Regions from separate parts of the Homo sapiens genome. Here all the other regions are linked to region 1. The links are contacts of gene promoters, found by promoter capture Hi-C in blood cells and fetal thymus (Javierre and others, 2016). All regions are on one chromosome and are shown on one strand. The core of a region is centred on a gene start or on the middle of the fragment in contact, and the rest is flanking DNA. Distances in the headings are between cores, read along the strand shown.

Evidence for each region. Contacts are between HindIII fragments. The CHiCAGO score rates a contact against its expected background, and 5 or more counts as called.
Region 2: the fragment with the promoter of SQOR here is called in contact with a fragment that was not itself captured in region 1 in 1 of 17 cell types (neutrophils); the score reaches 5.4 in neutrophils.
Region 3: the fragment with the promoter of AFG2B here is called in contact with a fragment that was not itself captured in region 1 in 1 of 17 cell types (neutrophils); the score reaches 8.7 in neutrophils.

Annotation. Positions count from the first base shown.
Region 1 is chr15:44,295,161-44,297,960 of GRCh38, reverse strand. All of the region lies in intron 1 of GOLM2 (golgi membrane protein 2), which reads right to left. Among named protein-coding and RNA genes, the nearest start is that of GOLM2, 7.8 kb to the right of the region's middle. RefSeq lists a silencer at 1,616-1,910. The HindIII fragment of the contact is 6,274 bases long and covers 1-2,800 here.
Region 2 is chr15:45,633,779-45,636,578 of GRCh38, reverse strand. It overlaps SQOR (sulfide quinone oxidoreductase), which reads right to left and starts at 1,550. Exons shown (of 10, transcript NM_021199.4): 1 at 1,471-1,550. RefSeq lists enhancers at 779-828, 859-948, 1,411-2,406 and a silencer at 1,429-1,598. The HindIII fragment of the contact is 3,121 bases long and covers 1-2,278 here.
Region 3 is chr15:45,400,863-45,403,662 of GRCh38, reverse strand. AFG2B (AAA ATPase AFG2B) reads right to left here and starts at 1,327. Exons shown (of 8, transcript NM_024063.3): 1 at 145-1,327. The coding sequence starts at 1,233. It also overlaps a transcript of GATM not described here. RefSeq lists silencers at 495-644, 1,035-1,114 and enhancers at 1,195-1,354, 1,745-1,814, 1,825-1,874. The HindIII fragment of the contact is 3,246 bases long and covers 1-2,800 here.

The DNA.
Region 1 (2,800 bases), core at 98-2,597:
GGGAGGCGGAGGTTGCAATGAGCCAAGATTGCGTCACTGTACTGCAGCCTGGGCAACAGAGCAAGACTCCATCTCAAAAAAAAAAAAAAAAAAGGCCAGGTGCGGTGGCTCACACCTGTAATCCCAACACTTTGGGAGGCCAAGGCGGGTGGATCATGAGGTCAGGAGATCAAGATGGAGACCATCCTGACTAACATGGTGAAACCCCTTCTCTACTCAAAATACAAAAAATTTAGCTGGGCCTGGTGGCGGGTGCCTGTAGTCCTAGCTACTCAGGAGGCTGAGGCAGGAGAATGGTGTGAACCCGGGAGGCGGAGCTTGCAGTGAGCCAAGATCACACCACTGCACTCCAGCCTGGGCGACAGAGCAAGACTCTGCCTCAATTAAAAAAAAAAAAACAAAAAAAAATTGGTATAATAAATATACAGAAAAGAGGCAAGAAACTAAGAGTCAAACAGCAGGAACAAAGGCACAGAAACAGGAATTAACATGACACAGAAAGGCAGGTGGGAAGGCAAAAGTAAGCAAAACAATCAGCCTGAAATACAATTTGGGTCAGGAGATAGTGGGAGACAAAGGTAGCTAGAGCCATTCTATGGAAGACCTTAAAGATGAGACAGCAGAATTCTAACCTGATGTAGTCAGTGAGTCATACAGCCACTCTGAAAATAAGGTTTGAGGAAGTTCAGGCTGGCTTCACAGGAGAACTGACAAAAAGAAATGGAGACCAAGGAAAGGGGACTAGTTAGGGATCTGCCAAGTTCTCTATTCTGCAGTCAGAATGACGTTTTTTTTAATTCGATCAAGTAACTCCTCTGCATGTTGAAGCACTCAATATGATACACTGAAGGAATCAAAGACAACACCAAATTTCTAACCTCAGTCTTAAATAACAGTTGCATGGGCATCATTTATAGGAACCAAGAAGGTAGGAAAGGGATATCGTTTGGAAGAGTTATCAGTTTTGATTGGTTTATGAATAATTTGAGGTAGAAATTACAGTTAAAAGTTGGCCAGATTATGGCTGGTGAGGCAGAGGCAAAGGCAGGAATTATCATGTGCAGCATATTAGAACTGTAGAAGGTTGATACTCAAATTACAGAAGAACAGGCAAGCTCTAGGGAGTCAGCTAAGACACCTATGGGAGGAGCCAACTAAGCCTAACTGGAAATGAACCAGGAAACTGAAAACAAGCAAATAACAAAAACAGTCAGACATTCAGGAGCAAAGGGTGAGGCAGGTAGGCTAGGGCTGGGACCAGATCTTGGGCAGGAACACAGACAGAGTCCCATCCTGGAAAAAAGGCAGAAAAGAAATAAGGAAGTAGCTGTAGAATAACAATGTAGTAGGCACTGTTTTAAGAATTTTAATCAATTTACTCAAACCTCTCAAGAATAAGAGAGACTACTATTATATTCCAAAATTTTCCCCCAAAAAGCATTTTTTTGTAATACGCTTCTCATCCTCCTTTCTGACATATGACCTTTTCCCCATTCAACTAAAGGCATAGGCTGCCTCAAGGAAAATTATGGTTGTTAAAGGGAAAAAAGGTCATTTACTATTCAGCTTCAAACCTCAAAACTGATGTGTGTGTATGTGTGTGTATGTGTGTAATAAAACGACAATTTTGAGGACTTTTTCTACATTCTAACAGCTCCTTTTATTTATCAAGAGCTTGACGTGCCACAGCTGGACCACATAGCTTTAGTATGAGCTACAGTTTGCAAGAATCCAAGTTTAGGAGCCAAGCACAGTGGTGCACACCTGTAGTTTCAGCTACTCAGAAGGCTTAAACAGGAGGACCTTCACTTGAGACCAGGAGTTCCTGGCTGTGGTGTGCTATGATCACACCTATGAATAGCTACTGCATTCTAGCCTGGGCAATGTAGTAAGACCCCATCTCTTTAAAAGACAAAGAGAGAGAGAATAATAATCAAAGTTAAGAGACATGCCCTGTACTGAGGAAAGAGAAATAAGGACTTTTCTGATAAAAGAGGAAATAAAAGGGTGTCTGTGTGTGTGTGTGTGTGTGTGTGTGTGTGTATGTGTGGTGGATCTCCCTTGTTCTAAGATGAACTGTGTTTCCCCCAAATTCACATGTTGAAGTCCCAGCCTCCAGGATCTCAGAATGTAACTGTATTTGGAGACAAGGTCTTTAAAGTGCTTAAGTTACAGTGGGTCTAATCCAATATGACTCGTATCCTTTTAAGAAGAGGAAAAGACACCAAGGATGTGTGCATACAGAGGGACTATCATGTCACAATAAAGCAGCAAGAAGGTTGCCATCTGCAAGCCAAGGAGAGAAGTTCAGAGAAAAACAACCCTGCTGGCACCTTGGTCTTAGACTTCCAACCTTCAAAAATGTGAGAAAATAAATTTCTGCTGTTTAAGCCACCTAGTCTGTGGCATTTTGTTATGGCAGCCCTAGCAAACTAATACACCCCTCCAGGCTGAAACCCTTTAGAGGGAAGTTTAAAAAATCAGAAAGTTTGAGGGAATCTCAGAGAAGTGGGGGTTGTTTCTCACTTCTTTGGACAAGACAGGAGCAACTTAAAGCTCCCTTAAAGAATTTCCATGTTCAAGGCCGGATGTGGTGGGTCATGCCTGTAATCCAGCACTTTGGGAGGCCAAGGTGGGCAGATCACTTGAGGTCAGGAGTTAAAGACCAGCCTGGCCAACATGGTGAAACCCTGTCTCTACTAAAAAATCAAAAATTAGCCAGGCATGGTGGCATGCACCTGTAGTCTCAGCTACTCAGGAGGATGAGGCAGGAGAATCACTTCAGCCCGGCGGGTGGAGG
Region 2 (2,800 bases), core at 301-2,800, 1.3 Mb before region 1:
TACAAAAATTAGCTGGGTGTGGTGGCACACACCTGTAGTCCCATCTACTCGGGAGGCTGAGGCAGGAGAATCACTTGAACCCAGCAGGCGGAGGTTGCATTGAACCGAGATCGCGCCACTGCACTCCAGCCTGGTGACAGAGTGAGACTCCGTCTCAAAAAAAAAAAAAAAAGAAGAAAGAAATTACAGATATTTTCTTATATTACAAGTATTACCTATATCTTGAAATAATTGTTTATGTTCTTTACTACTTCAAAATTATGGTAACTATTTAATCCACTGCTAGATCTTGTTATTTAATAACCTTGTTATTAAATAACGCATTCGTTTTTTAAAGACATATATATTACCATATCATAAATTCTTTTAATGTTTTGACATGTGTTTTGCAATTGGTTTCCTTTATAATACTCTTCCTTTTGTTTTATACCTTTAAAAAAGCATTGTTCTGGTCCAGCGCGGTGGCTCACTCGTGTAATCCCAGCACTTTGGAAGGCCGAAGTGTGCGGATCATTTGAGGCCAGGAGTTCGAGACCAGCTGGGCAACATGGTGAAACCCGCCTCTACTACAAATACTAAAATTAGCCAGGTGTGCTGCGCCTGTAATCCCAGTTACTCGGCAGGCTGAGGCAGGAGAATCGCTTGAACCCGGGAGGTGGAGGTGGCAGTGAGCCGAGATCGCGCCACTGCACTCCAGCTTGGGCGACAGAGCAAGACTCTGTCTCAAAAAAAAGTATTGTTCTGAGAGTCTTTAGCCTTCCCAGAAATGCCAAAGGGGTGCACAGCACAAAAATGGAACAGAGCCCTGCATTATAGCAATGGGCAGCGCAGGCAAAGCCAGGGGCTCTGTTCAGCGTCTTTGAGCAAAAAGCCAGGTTGGAATTTTGATAAATAAAAGAGACAGATGAAGAGGAAAGGAAATGAGCCCAGATTCCACCAGAAGACCCCTTCTCCCTTTCCACCAATTCCTGTTCAGCAGGTGCCCTAAATCCTCTCCCCTTCAGGTTTCAGCTGCAGCCGACCCCTCGAGCGCCCCCTCTGTCCCACGCGCAGTGTCGGTGGATGACTGTGTCAATCCCTGGCCCCCGGACGCCGAGCACCCACTCCCGCTCCAGGACGGTGCCGAGTGACAGTCAACAGGTGGAAGGCGCCAGAAACGTCCACACACCAAGACCACGGATACTTCGGTTTTTAAGCACCCCTCGCGGGTTGGCCTCTCCGCGGCCCTGAGGCTCTGACACTCTGAGAAGGAAGCAAGAGTCCCAAGACCCGGGTTCCAGACAAGGGCAGCAAGAGCTGCAGGTGTCCGGAGTTGAGGAAGCAAAGTTTGGGGCGCGGCGCACCGGGTCTGCGGAGTCCCAGCTGCGGAAACCGAGTTAAGCTAACAAACAGCCTCAGTGGTGGTCGCTGTCCCCGCCCAGTCTCCCTCCGCTGGCCCAGGGCCAAAGATCGGCCGCGGATGCCTCTTACCCGGGCGTGAGCGGAGCCTTCGGTCACTGCGTTGGCGCAGCAAAAACCTTCGCTCCCTTCTGGGTCTCAAGGCCTGGACTGGGGCCCCGCCCGCCTGCCATCCGGGCGGAGGCTGGAGGCGGGGAAAGCGAGGCTCCCCCCAGGAAAGGTCCCGAAAAGTCCCGCCGTGCCCCGCCCGGCGCCGCAGCCCAGGCACCATGGTCAGTGAACACACCAGGGCGTTGAGCGCTCACGGGGCACAGAACCAGGAACAAGCGTCCATCCGGCCTGGGGTGCTGCCGGCTGGACAGACTCGCCCCTTGCGCGCCCTGAAGGGCGGCCCCGCAGGCTGGGGCGCACAGGCGGAGGACACCGAGGCCACCTGACGCTTCCGCCCCTGGGTGCCAACAGCGTTTTGTAATCAGGGCAGGCAAAAGCGGAGGCGGGGCGCTGTGCAGAGAGGCTCTGGCTGTTCCCACTGGGTCCTCCTATGTGCCCTGGGCTTCTCACCGGGTTCACACAGCTGCCCAGAAACACAGGTATTCCCGCGCTCATTTCACAGAGAAGGTGACCGAGGTTCAGCTTTGGTGTGCGCTGGAGCCCTTCCTTCAAAACGCGCAGGCAGGGGTAAGCTGGCTTCCAGCCACTGGCCTCCACAGTGTCCCATCCCATATTCATGACTGGACATTTTCAGTTGGCGGCTCTTTCCAGGTTGATGTAAAGTCTCAGTGAGTGGTTCTCCACCATATCAGATTCAGTAACCCTTTTTACAATAAATACAGGGTGTCCCAAAAGTCTCATAACCTGAGAAGTGCAAGTGCTAGAAGCTTTCAAAAAAACAAACAAAAATAAACCCTTGAAAGTTTGAGTTTCTTTTACACTTATTTGGTTTTATGAATTTTGAATATATATATATATATATATATATATAGTTGTTGTTGTTGTTTTTTGAAACAGAGTCTCACTGTGTTGCCCAGGCTGGAGCGCAGTGAGTAGAGCAATCTCGGCTCACTGCAACATCTGCCTCATGGGTTCAACCAATTCTGGTGTCTCAGCCTCCTGAGTAGCTGGGACTACAGGTGTGTGCCACCATGCCCGGCTAATTTTTGTATGTTTCAGTAGAGATGAGGTTTCACCATGTTGGCCAAGCTGGTCTCAAACTCCTGGCCTCAAGCGATCTGCCCTCCTGGGCCTCCCAAAGTGCTGGGATTACAGGCGTGAGCCACCATGCCCAGCCTTGAATATTATTTTTTTAAATGTTTTCAACTGATACTTTCTATCTTTAATCAAAGAGACTGACTGTATCTATGGCAAAATCATCATGAACAATACAATACAAACGCAGACTGTA
Region 3 (2,800 bases), core at 78-2,577, 1.1 Mb before region 1:
ACGTGTTCTCTGCATTGCAAAGAGCCCCAACTCCAACCTCACCGATGCTCAAACCTAAGAGGCAAACGCCTCCGGGGCAGCCAAATGGCGCCAGAAGCGGCCGAGGTTCCACCGACAGTGGGCAAACCCGCCAAGCCCATTCACCTCTCGGTCAAATCTCCCGGGCCTACGCAGCGCTGGGTCTAGAGCGTCCGGCCGGTTAGTGGCTCCCACAACCACGACCTCGCGGTCCCCACTGGCGCCGTCCAGCAGCGTCAACACCTGGGCCACTACGCGGCTCTCGGGTGCTCGACTGCCCCGCTGGGGACACAAGGCGTCCATCTCGTCCAGGAAGAGGAGGCTGGGTCCGCGGCTGGCCAGTTCCCGGGCGCGCTGGAAGACCCGCCGCACGTTCTCCTCGGTCTCCCCAGGCCGGGAACCCTGCAGCGCCGGGGCGCTGACTGCCAGCAGCTCCGCGCCCGCCTCGCGCGCCACGGCCCGCACCAGCTGGGTCTTGCCCACTCCGGGGGGCCCCGCCAGGAGCACCCCGCGAGGCACCGCTAAGCCCAGCGCGGTCAGGGCGCGCGGGTAGCGGAGCGGGAGGCGGAGGAGCTCCCGCAGCGAGTCGGCCGCCTCCGAAAGACCTCCCAGGGGCACCTCGGGCTGCGGCTGGGCTTCCGACGGAGGCTCCCCGCCAAGGCTGACGCGGGTACGAGGGGTGACCAGCCCAGCGGGATCGGGACTGGGCGTCCCGCCGACGATGTGCAAGGCAGCCACCAGGCCAGGAGCGCCTGGCGGAGCGACCACCACGTGGCCCAGGGAGATCGGTCGGTTTCTCAGCAGCTCCTGTGCCGCCTCCAGCACCGCGGCTGTATTCCGGGCACCGGGCGCGCCTGCCCGCTCTCGCAACACCGGCCACACGGCGACGCGCCGCAGGGGCGGACAGGGCACTAGGAGGAGGCGATTCAGGCTGAGACTCCTCCGGGATCTCGACGCCCCGACCGCCGCCCCGGGGCTCGCGCACAGCGGGTCCAGCTGCACAAAGCCGTCCGCTCCGTCCCGCCGAGGCCAGGCAGTGCAGAGGCAGGAGCCGCCGTCGGGTAGCGAGATCTTCACTGCCGAGCCCAAGCGCGCGCCCAGGGCGTGGAGGGCGGCCGGGCCCAGGCGGCAGCGCTGGGTGCCCCGGTCTCTAGCGTCTAAGGGTAGCAGCTTTAAGAGCGGCCCTTCAGGGAAGGGATCCGAGTCCGGAGCCATCGCACACAGATGAACCAGGCAGACGAAACCAGATTAGGAAACCCACCCGGCCCACAAAAAGCGGAACACCGAGCTCGCAGGCCGGAAGCAGATTGCGCGCATGCGCTAGGGCAGACTGCGTTGCTAGCAGCTGAGTGAAGGCCGAAAGGGCCAATGGAAACGTTAGACGACGCTCGGGCCTCTGGGTAGAGCGTTGGTGTCCGCTTTCGTGAAATCGAGTTGCCTAACCCAGAGCTTTCCCGAGATGGTCTTCGTTACAGGTGTCTGGGAGGCGGCTTAAGCTCACTTCACTAGGTCATTAAGCATGTACTTTGGTGGTTACATATATCTTGGAAGTCACCGGCTTTACATTCTGTTTTCCTGGCCTTCGAACTGGAGCATCAGTACTACCGCCGTTGGAATAGCAACCTAGAGACTTTGCTATTTTGTGAAGAAACTCTAACTATCCGCATGGGCACAGAATTTTGGGTGCTCTGGTGCAAATGTCTCAGGTGACTTGGCGTAACTGAGAATACAGCCTTGGGACCTTCGGTAATCGGGGTTCCAATCTGGGAGGTCCAGGCACAACCCTTCCTATGGGAAAGTACCAGCATAGTGGGAGGGAAGCACACGGTAGCGCTTAAAATCCCTTGTAGAGAGGAAAGAAGGAAAACTAGGCTACCTGATGGATTTGTAGCACACCAACAGTACATTTGTTCTGATTTCTGATATTCTTTTGAATATTCTTTGGCAACAAGTTAATCACTAAAGTTCATGCGATCAATGCTTACTGTCTAATTGGGGCACAACAGTACTAAGTCCTGTATTAGAGGCGATACCTATCTACGTTATTAAGACAACTGCCTGCTATTTTTTTTTTCCAGCTGCTTTCTGCCTTTCCCTTTCGCACAGGGAATTCCTTTTTATCAGCTGGAATACATTTTCTATCCCTCTTAATTGCCGTTAAAAAAGAACTACAGATACTCAAAGACAAGAAGATATACCTTGTTTTTATTTGACTTACATCTTCCTACCTCTATTTTCCCCACTTTCACTGCAACCCAAATTTGTGAGTTGACAAAACTGATATTTTAGAGTGCTTAAGTTGCTGGGAAGTTTTTTTTTTCTATCTATGCAAATAATCAATTACAGACTGTGTAGTAATATCTTATCAATGGGAAGTACTGTCAGATCTGGGATCTTAAGACCCATGCCAGTTCCTGATCTCATTCTGTCCAAACTTCATGGCAGACATGACAGACTTCTTGACTTGACAGTAACTTACCTGGTCTCAGCTGTACTTGTCTGCTTAAATCGATTCTGGAACAATTTAGGAATCAGAAAATAGCAGGAGGAGGTCTTGAAATGGATAAGTCACCCATTACTTCCTGTTTTCTTTTTTCCTCTTAATCCCATTGGCTTCAGTTCTTTTTGGTTTGGGGACTTTTAAATAACAGCTTTGCATTTTTTGAAATAAAAAAAAAGCCATCGTTTTTACCGACCCCTAAAGGTGTGAATTACATGCCTATCAAGTTATTTTATCAGAAGCCTGTACCTCATCGAGTTCCTTCTATTCAGCTCCAAGAAG